Regions from separate parts of the Homo sapiens genome. Here region 1 is linked to region 2. The links are contacts of gene promoters, found by promoter capture Hi-C in blood cells and fetal thymus (Javierre and others, 2016). All regions are on one chromosome and are shown on one strand. Each heading gives the region's core, a stretch centred on a gene start or on the middle of the fragment in contact. The rest is flanking DNA. Distances are from core to core; before and after follow the strand shown.

Region 1 (4,804 bases), core at 2,053-4,552, 260 kb before region 2:
AACTAGCGGATTCTCACTTAGGAACATGTGGGAATGTGCACAAAGACAGTACATGCTGAGTCTTGCCAGGGTCCCACTCAGAGGAGTGCTCAAGTATGCTGGCCAAGTGGGGAACCCTGCACTGCACAGCCCTGAGACCTGTACCTGCCTAGTCTCCCCACACCCCCAATACCTTTAAAGCTGGAGCAAAGTCACCTCTTTCAGGAAGACAGCCATGTTGTTTACAGTATGGGAACCAAGGGAGAGGTACGGATGTGGCCTCTTAGGTTTCAGTTGGGCAACACAATTCCTTCCCATGTCGGAAGTGACTAGATTTCTTCAGCGGTCCCTCCCCATTTACCTTCTAGATCTTACTTCTTCCATCCCCCTGATGCAAGCCTGGCTAAAAAAAAGGGGGTGATAGTTCTGGAATAACGTTGGGTCATTCATCCCCAAAACAGACATACATATGCACCCATGCATAAGCAACATGCACGTACACACTGTGGGTTACCTAGAAATCCCGTCAATGTATCCTCCTGGGGTACATAACATTTTCTGGAAGAAGGTTTTAACATAAGAAAGGGAAATAAAAAACAAGAAAAGGAACTTTGTTTTTCGTTTGATGTGCTATCTGAATTTCTGGTCATGATAATGGGCTGGCTGAAGAGGCATAGCAGCAAATCAGCAACACAAACATGCCCTCCATAGGCATCCTAAATAACTTTTTTTTTAATTTTTAAAAAGGCTGGGCGTGGTGGCTTATGCCTGTAATCCCAACACTTTGGGAGGCCGAGGCGGGCGGATCACCTGAGGTCAGGAGTTTGAGACCAGCCTGGCCAACATGACAAAACCCCGTCTCTACTAAAAATACCAAAATTAGCTGGCATGGTGGTGGGTGCCTGTAATCCCAGCTACTTAGGAGGCTGAGGCAGGAGAATTGCTTGAACCCGGGAGGGAGAGGTTGCAGTAAGCTGAGATCACGCCACTGCACTCCAGCCTGAGAAATAGAGTGAGACTCTGTCTCAAAAATAAATGAATGAATTAATTAATTTTTAAAAATAAATATCTGAGGTCAATAGCAGGCAAGAGAGAGAGAAAAAATCTCCAAGGGCCAGAAATGAAGAGGGAGCTTAAAAATGTATGGACTTATCAGGGAGTAGGATTAAAGCCAGAGGAACCCAGAAAGATACTAGAATTGATCATGTACCTTAAGGATGGGAATGATAATACCAGTGACCCTAAAGGCCCCATGTATAGCAGAAACTACAACTTGATTGCCTATAAAATTGTCAGGACCAAGAAAGAGCTGCCATGCCCTTGAATGGGGATAGAAAAGCACTTTGCAGCCTGAGACACAACCCCCAAGTGAGCTGCCTTCCTAGGTCATGAGAGAAAAGGGGCCAATTGAGGAACATTCCAGAATCCCAAGCCCTAGTATCAAGTGATGAGGACCCAAATCTGTCATTTGCAATGGTGTGGAAACTCAGGGCCAAGAAATATCAATAACAAAAAATGCTCTGAGCTATGTAACCCAGTAAGGCCCTAGCAGGTACAGCCATAAAGCCACCCCTGAATAGACTTCTTCATAATCCAGGGCACATGCAAGACTCCCATGAAACAAAAAAATGCCTTCAAAAGATGAATTAACAATAAAATGTTACAAAGAGCTGACAATCATCACAATCAACAGTCAGTCAACAGCAAATGGGAGAATTCACACCTGAGGAGCTAAAGATAATAAAGCAATTTGGATCTGACTTTAAAATAAGTATATTTTTTGCCACGCACAGTGACTCACACCTATAATCCCAACACTTCGAGAGGCAGAGGTGGGAGAATCACTTGAGGCCAGGGGATCAAGACCAGCCTGGGAAACATAGTGAGACTCCATCTCTCCAAAAAATATTTTAAACATTAGCCAGAGATGGTGTTGCGTGCCTGTAGTCCGAGCTACCTGGGGGCTAAGGAAGGAGGATTTTTTTTTTGAGACAAGGTCTCACTCTGTTGCCCAGGCTGGAAGGCAGTGGTGCAATCTTGGCTCACTGCAACCTCTGCCTCCCAGGATCAAACAATCCTCCCACCTTAGCCCCCAGAGTAGGTGCATTCCACCATGCCCAGCTAATTTTGTGCATGTGTGTATTTTTTTGTGGAGATGGGGTTTCACCATGTTGCCCGGGCTGGCCTTGAACTCCTTGACTCAAATGATCCTCCCGCCCTGGATTCCCAAAGGGCAGGAATTATAGGCGTGAGCCACCGCACCCAGCCCCTAAATTTTTTTTTTTAAATAGGTCAAGCTTGGTGGCTCATGCCTGAAATTCCGGAAATTTGGGAGGCCAAGGAAGAAGGACTGCTTGAGCCTAGGAGTTCAAGACGAGCCTGGGCAACATAGTAAGATTCTGTCTCTACAAATTTTTTTTTAATTAGCCAAAGGTGGTGTTGCATGCCTGTAGCCCCAGCTACTCAGGAGGCTGAGGCAGGAGGATTTTTTAATTTTTTTTTTTTAAATAGGCAGGGTGCAGTGACTCAACCTGTAATCCTAGCACTTTGGAAGACAAGGAGAGGGGATCACTTGGGCCCAGGAGTTGGAGACCAGCCTGGGTGACATAGGGAGACCCCGACTCTATTTAAAAATTTAAAACTAGCCAGGCAGGCATGGTGGCACACACCTGTAGTCCCAGCTACTTAATAGGCTGAGGTAGGAGGATTCCTTGAGCCTGGGAGGTCAAGGCTGCAGTGAGCTGAGATTGGGCCACTGCATTCCAGCATAGGTGATACAGTGAGATCCTGTCTCAAAAATAAAATAAAATAGAATAATTCTTTTAAAAAAATTAAAGAATAAGGAAAACGAAGGGTGGAACACTGTCAAAGAACTAATACCAGATAAATTTACATAACCTAAATTTCCAGATTAAGAAAATTTACCAGGCGCCCAGCACAATGAATGAAGAAAAACACCACCAAGGTACACATCATGCATTCTAAAACTAAAAAGAAGATTTAAATTCTGAAATGATGGCATACAGTTAAAATCCAAAGCAATCTTTAAAAAAATCTACTAGAACCAATAAATGAATTTACTTAGGTCCCAAGTTACAAGGTCAATATACATACTGCAACTGTATTTCTATATACTATGGTAACCAAAAAAAGAACTGGAAAATGAAAACTTTTTAAGATATCATTTGTAATCGCATCCAAAAAACCCATAAAATACTTAGGGACAAATTTTGCAAAGTATGTACAAGATTTGTGTACCAAGAACTATAAAACATCCTTTGCAAAAAAATTAAAGAAGACATAAATAGAGAAAGATATCGTGCCCATGGACTGGAAGACTCAATATGACAATGTCAATTTTCTCTAAATTGATCTATGAATTCTACATAATCCAAATCAAAATCCCAGCTGGACATTATATAGAAATTGATAAGCAGATTCTAAAATTTCTCTGGAAACATAGTCAAAGCAATTTAGTAAAGAGGAACTGGCCCCTTTCCTAAGAGTCACCTGTCCAGGTTGGAAGAAGACAATGAAGGACTCCCGGAGAGAGGTCTTTGAGAAAGAAAAATTAATAGATTATCCGCTGAGTGTGAATGTATTGAGGGAGACATTGGAACTGATGTCATGATAAGTACATGGAACATCCTCTCATCAATTCCAGGGAAAACAAAACTTGTACAAAAAAAATTGGATCCTACTGTGAATAATTTTTTACATAGTCATAATAACAAAAAAATTGAATGTCGACTTAACCAAAAAATGTGGCATCTGTTTCTGGAGAATGGAGAAGGCAGTATTTGTGTTTGCTTGGATTGGGGTGAAAGCAGGAGAGGGACTGGGAGAATATTACATTCTCAAAGCCAAAAGAGAGAGTCAGTGATGATAGCTAAACCTGGAGGGGGAGAAAAACAAGAACTAGCAGAGGGCTGGTCACAGTGGCTCACACTTGTAATCCCAGCACTTTGGGAGGCTGAGGTGGGGGGATCACTTGAGGTCAGGAGTTCAAGTGATGAACTGGCCTGGCCAACATGGTGAAACCCTGTCTCTACCAAAAAATGCAATAATTAGCCAGGCGTAATGGCGGGCACCTATAGTCCCAGCTACTCAGGAGGCTGAGGTGGGAGAATGACTTAAACCAGGGAGGCGGAGGTTGCAGTGAGCTGAGATCATGCCACTGCACTCCAGCCTGGGAGACTGAGTGAGACCAAAAAAAAGAAAAAAACTAGCAGAACAAGTATGATATTTAGAAATATATAGATCACTATCCGATGAAACAGCTATGAGAGCTGACAGCTGCTGCCCTTGTCTGCAGGGATTGGAGCTGGAAGGCTGCTGGTTTTTTGTTATAAGCTTCATAAAGCCATTTCGTTTTTTCAACAATGTGTATAAAATACTTAGACAATAGAAAGAAAATTTAATCTTAAAAAGTCGAGTTAACATATTTCGATTATTTTTTATTTATTATGTCTTTGATTCATTTCTACCCTGAAGGTTGGAAGGAAGACTTTGGATTTAAAAACTGAATACCAGGCTGCAAGAAAACATTGGTGCTGAGAGCTCCGCCGTTAGCTCCTTGTGGCTTTCTGGGTGGAACCTAGAGTGGCCTCTCTGACCTCTGCATGGAAACGGCAAAAGACAGGGCTCCACCACTGTCTCTTGGTGAGTGGTCTTCTCTAGGAAGGCACCTCTTTGGGACGATCCTTAGACCAAAGAGGAGATTGTCATGTTACTCATTTGCATCTATGAGATTTTTCAGTCTCTGAAAGACTCTTATTAAAATACTACTTTGCTGAGAAAGGGGCAAATTTTACCTCTATGGCAT
Region 2 (5,135 bases), core at 1,902-4,401:
TATATATATATATATATATATATATATGAACATGCAGACAGACAGGTATCTACCTGTACTGGACAATGACTTGAAAGAAATATTCCAAAACAATTCAGTGACAGTGATTTATCTGGAGAATATCTCTATATTGAAAATATAGGTGAGTTTTTACCTTCCTTTTTCTTGTCCTTGTAATCGAGTGTATCTCTCTCTCTCTCTCTCTCTCTCTCTCTCTCTCTATATATATATATATATATATATATACTCCTTTTTATTCACAAGAAAGTGTTATTTTTTTCATAACCTGTGACATAGGAGGCAGGATTATATATTTTTATTTTTATATTTATATATGTGTATATTTTTCAAAACAGAGCCTCACTTCGTCACCCAGGCTGGAGGGCAGTGGCACAATCTCAGTTCACTGCAACCTCTGCCTCCCGGGTTCAAGCAATTATTGTGCTTCAGCCTCCCTTGTAGCGGGGATTACAGGTGTGCACCACCACACCCAGCGATTTTTTTTTTTAAAAGAAACAAAATAGCAACTCCAGTGTTTACTCCTCTTTCCAGACAACACATGAGCGTGTGCACACACATATAGTGCACACATGCCCACATGTGCGCAAACACACAGCAGTCTCCCTTTATCCACCAATTCAGGTACCTCATAGTCAACCATGTTCTGAAAATACTACATGGAAAATTCTAGAAATAAACCATTCATAAGTTTTAAATTACACAGTATTCTCAGTAGCGTGATGGGATCTCCCACCGCCCCACTCCATCCCACCTGAAACGTGAGTCATCCCTTTGTCCACTACCTCCACATGCTGCATGCTCCCTGATGGGCATTTAGCAGCCGTGTGGGCTATCAGATCCACTGTCATGGCATTGCAGGGCTTGTGTTCAAAGTAACCCTTATTGGGCCGGGCGCAGTGGCTCACGCCTGTAATCCCAGCACTTTGGGAGGCCTAGGTGGGCGGATCACTTGAGGTTAGGAGTTTGAGACCAGCCTGGCCAACATGGTGAAACCATGTCTCTGATAAAAATACAAGAAAAATTAGCTGGGTGTGGTGGTATGCACCTGTAGTCCAGCTACTCGGGAGGCTGAGATGGGAGAATTGCTTGAACCCAGGAGGCAGATGTTGCTGTGAGCCGAGATCATGCCATTGCACTCCAGCCTCGGTGACAGAGCGAGACTTCATCTCCAAAAAACAAAAATAAAGACAACCCCCCACCCAAAGTAACACTTATTTTACTAAATAATGCAAGAGTAGCGATGCTGGCAATTTGGAAGTGCCAAAAAGAAGCCATAAAATGTTTCCTTTAAATGAAAAGGTAATAGTTCTCAATAAGGAAAGAACAAAAAACATCATATACTGAGGTTGCTAAGATCTATGATAAGAATGCATCTTCTGTTCATGAAATTGTGAAGAAGGAAACAGAAATTTGTGTTAATTTTGCTGGTGTACCTCAAACTGCAAAATGCAGCCACAGTGCAGGATAAGTGCTAATGAAAATAGAAGGGGCTTCAATTTGTGGGTGGAAGACACGAACAGAAACATGCTCCAGCTGATGGCAGCCAGGTTCGGTACGATCCGAGGTTTTAAGGCATCCACTGCGGGTCCTGGAATGTATCCCCCGTTGGATAAGGGGGGGACTACTGTACATTTGGTCTCCAGAACTCTTGGGAGGCTGTGATGAGAAGGACGTACTGCCCTCACCCAGCCCACTTCACGTCACCCTCCTAAGGACCAGGCTTCACAGGTGATAGGAGAATTTCTGCAGTCTGGGAGGCAGCTGCCCAAGGTGCTGAGTTTGCGTGTGAAGCTGGTTTCTCAGCGAGATCCACGCTGGAGTTGGCTGCACAACTTTCCTGCCTGAGTGAGATGGATCCCCTAGGGTCAGGGGTCAGACATGGAAACCTTGGCTTCTGGGAGAGGGTAGCAGAACAGAGTTCAAAGGCACTGGTTTATGGCATCTCATAAAAACTCCAGGTGGGCCGGGTGCAGTGGCTCACGCCTGTAATCCCAGCACTTTGGGAGGCCGAGGTGGGCGGATCACGAGGTCAAGAGTTCAAGACCAGCCTGGCCGACATGGTGAAACCCCGTCTCTACTAAAAATACAAAAATTAGCTGGGCGTGGTGGTGTGCGGCTGTAATCCCAGCTACTCGGGAGGCTGAGGCAGGAGAATCACTTGAACCCAGGAGGCGGAGGATGCAGTGAGATGAGATCACGCCACTGCACTCCAGCCTGGGCGACAGAGACAGACTCCATCTCAGCAAAAAAAACGAAAACAAAAAAAACACTCCAGGTGGAGCCAGTGCCCCTAAGGGTGGAGAGGAGGAGCAGTTGTGCTCACTGGGGCCCTTGCTAAGTGAGGGTCATGCTGAGAAGAGACCTCTAGGAGACCTCTAAGAGACCTCCCATCTGTTCTGGAGGGGCCCTGAGTATAAGTCCCTGCATTCCTGGGTTTGGGGCTTCTGCAACCCTAGAGTCCTGCCTCTCTTTCTCCATGAACCATTCACCCCAGGGCAGGTGGGAGGACAGCTGAGCCTCCTTCTCTTGGTTGGTAGGAGGAAAGGTTCAGGCGCCGCTGACCCTACCTGGACAGTGCTGTCTGCCTGTGGTGAGGGCCTGGGCCCTGGGCAGAAAAGCACCCCATCCCTTGCTCACTCAGAAGCCAAGGGAGGGGCTGGGCGCCGGGCCTCACACCTGTAATCCCAGCACTTTGGGAGGTCGAGGCAGGTGGATCATTTGAGGTCAGGAGTTCAAGTCCAGCCTGGCCAACATGGTGAAACCCTGTCTCTGCTAAATATACAAAAATTAGCCAGGCATGGTGGCACATGTCTGTAGTCCCAGTTACTTGGGAAGCTGAGGCAGGAGAATCACTTGAACTTGGGAGGCGGAGGTTGCAGTGAGTCGAATTCATACCACTGCACTCCAGCCTGAATGACAGAGTGAGGCTCAAAAAAAAAAAAAAGCCAAGGGTGGGGCACATCAGCTCTCATTGTCAGGCTGTGGAGGGCTCTGGGCTCCCAGGGACCTGGCAGCACCTGCCTCCCCACCCCCTCACCTCTCTGGGGCCCTATCTTCCCTTATATGGTGAAGGCAGTTCCTAGAGGAGGGGGGGTGGGGACAAAGGTCGCTCTTCTGCAGCCAGCTTGCCACAATTCCCTGAGATCTCCCAGGTGGCAGCTGCCTCCCCAAGACAGGTAAGGCAACCTGGTGGGAACACATGGAGACCTTAGGTGGTGCGAGGGGACGGGGTCCTCTGCTTTTCTCGGGCAACTTGGGGCCTCCTGGAGCACCTTGGTACGGGCTCGAAGGGGAGGCTTGACACTCTGGATAGCGTGAGAAGTGCTGGGAGCCCAGTGTGTCTGCCCTGGGCCTCCAGGGAGAGACTTTTGCAGGCCCTGCCCCAGACAATGGCTCTCTCAGTCTCCTACCTGTGGCTAGCCCCATCCCACTTTGGGTGTCACCATCCCAATTGCCCTGGAACTTCTAGAGTTAAAACCAGGACAGTGCTGGGCAGACCGGGACTAGTTGGTCTCCCTGACCTCACTCCCCGAGCCCCCTCCCCACCAGCTCATCTCTTTGCCCGTGCGTTCTTCATCTGAAGTGTTTTTTTCTTTGTGTCACCATTCCTCTGACACTCCTGGGACCTCCGGGTCCTGCCTCCTGGCTCCTAGCATATGAGCAACAGCCACCAGCAATTGAATGGGCACACACAGAGGCAAGGGCAGAGGCAAGGGGCTGGAGGTGGCAGGGCCTTAGGTCCTGGGCCATGCCGGGCCACCCTAGCATGCACCTCTGCCCCATCTCCCCTCTACCCGGAGCTGCCCCATTGGCCTCCCCAGCCACTGTGGGCCCATTCAGCAGAACTAGGAATGGGAGCTAGCTGCAGACCAGGCTCTGAGGACACACTGGCTGCTGTCTTCTCGGGACATCATCTGCTGGGGCAGAGCCTTTGGGCTGGAGGGTCTTGGCGGGTGTCCATTCCCTCTTCTATCATGAGCCTGGGAAGCAGGAGGATGTCCTTTGTCTGAGGGGTGGGACTTCACCCCCACTGCCCCACCACATTCCTGTCCAGCTCAGAGCTGCACGACTGGGAACTAGGAGCCGTGGCAGCACCCCACTTACAACAGAGCCGCAACTCAAGTACAACAGGGCTCAGATAAGAAAGGCATGGTGGGCCAGGTGCAGAGCCTCATGCTTGGAATCCCAGCACTTTGGGAGGCCAAGTGGGGTGGATCACTTGAGGTCAGGACTTCAAGACCAGCCTGACCAACATAGTGAAACCCCGTTTCTACTAAAAATACATAATTAGCTGGGTGTGCTCGCGCACGCCTATAGTCCCAGCTACTCGGGAGGCTGAGGCACGAGAATCGCTTGAACCCAGGAGGCGGAGATGACAGTGAGCCAGAATTGCACCATTGCACTCCAGCCTGGGTGACAGAGTGAGACTCTGTCTCAAAAAAAAAAAAAAAAAAAGAAAAGAAAAAAAGAAAAAAGAAAGAAAGGCAAGATGGACCTGCAGACAGTGGGAGCCCAAACCCCTCCAGTGCCCTGGGAGGGTCCTCCTTCCATCCCACAGTTCAGCCTTTCAGCATCATGAGTATTTGTTTTTTTTTTTTTTGTTTTTTTTTTGAGAAGGAGTCTCACTCTTTCATCCAGGCTGGAGTGCAGTGGCGTGATCTCAGCTCACTGCAGGCTCCACCCCCTGGGTTCACGCCATTCTCCTGCCTCAGCCTCCCGCGTAGCTGGGACTACAGGCGCCCACCATCTCGCCCGGCTAATTTTTTGTATTTTTAGTAGAGACAGGGTTTCACCGTGTTAGCCAGGATGGTCTTGATCTCCTGACCTCGTGATCCGCCTGCCTCGGCCTCCCAAAGTGCTGGGATTACACGCGTGAGCCACCACGCCCAGCCCATGAGTATTTGTTGAGCACCTACTATGTGCTAGGAGCTGGGGGCTGCAAAGACAAACATATCTAGGTCTTGGAGCTCAGGGACCTCCAACTTACAAACAGGTTATTTCATCACCATGTGGTCAGGGGGCCAAGAGAAGGGACAGTCCAGGATGCAGAGGGGCCCCTTGTCCAGCTGAGGATTCTAGGAAGGTCTCCTGGAAGAAATGAGATCTAAATTGAG

What was found. Contacts are between HindIII fragments. The CHiCAGO score rates a contact against its expected background, and 5 or more counts as called.
Region 1: a contact is called between a fragment that was not itself captured here and the fragment with the promoter of VIL1 in region 2, in 1 of 17 cell types (neutrophils). The highest score is 5.1, in neutrophils.

Annotation. Positions count from the first base shown.
Region 1 is chr2:218,156,000-218,160,803 of GRCh38, forward strand. No RefSeq gene overlaps it. Among named protein-coding and RNA genes, the nearest start is that of CXCR1, 8.6 kb to the right of the region's middle. The HindIII fragment of the contact is 2,056 bases long and covers 2,275-4,330 here.
Region 2 is chr2:218,415,972-218,421,106 of GRCh38, forward strand. VIL1 (villin 1) reads left to right here and starts at 3,152. Exons shown (of 20, transcript NM_007127.3): 1 at 3,152-3,197. The HindIII fragment of the contact is 19,335 bases long and covers 1-5,135 here.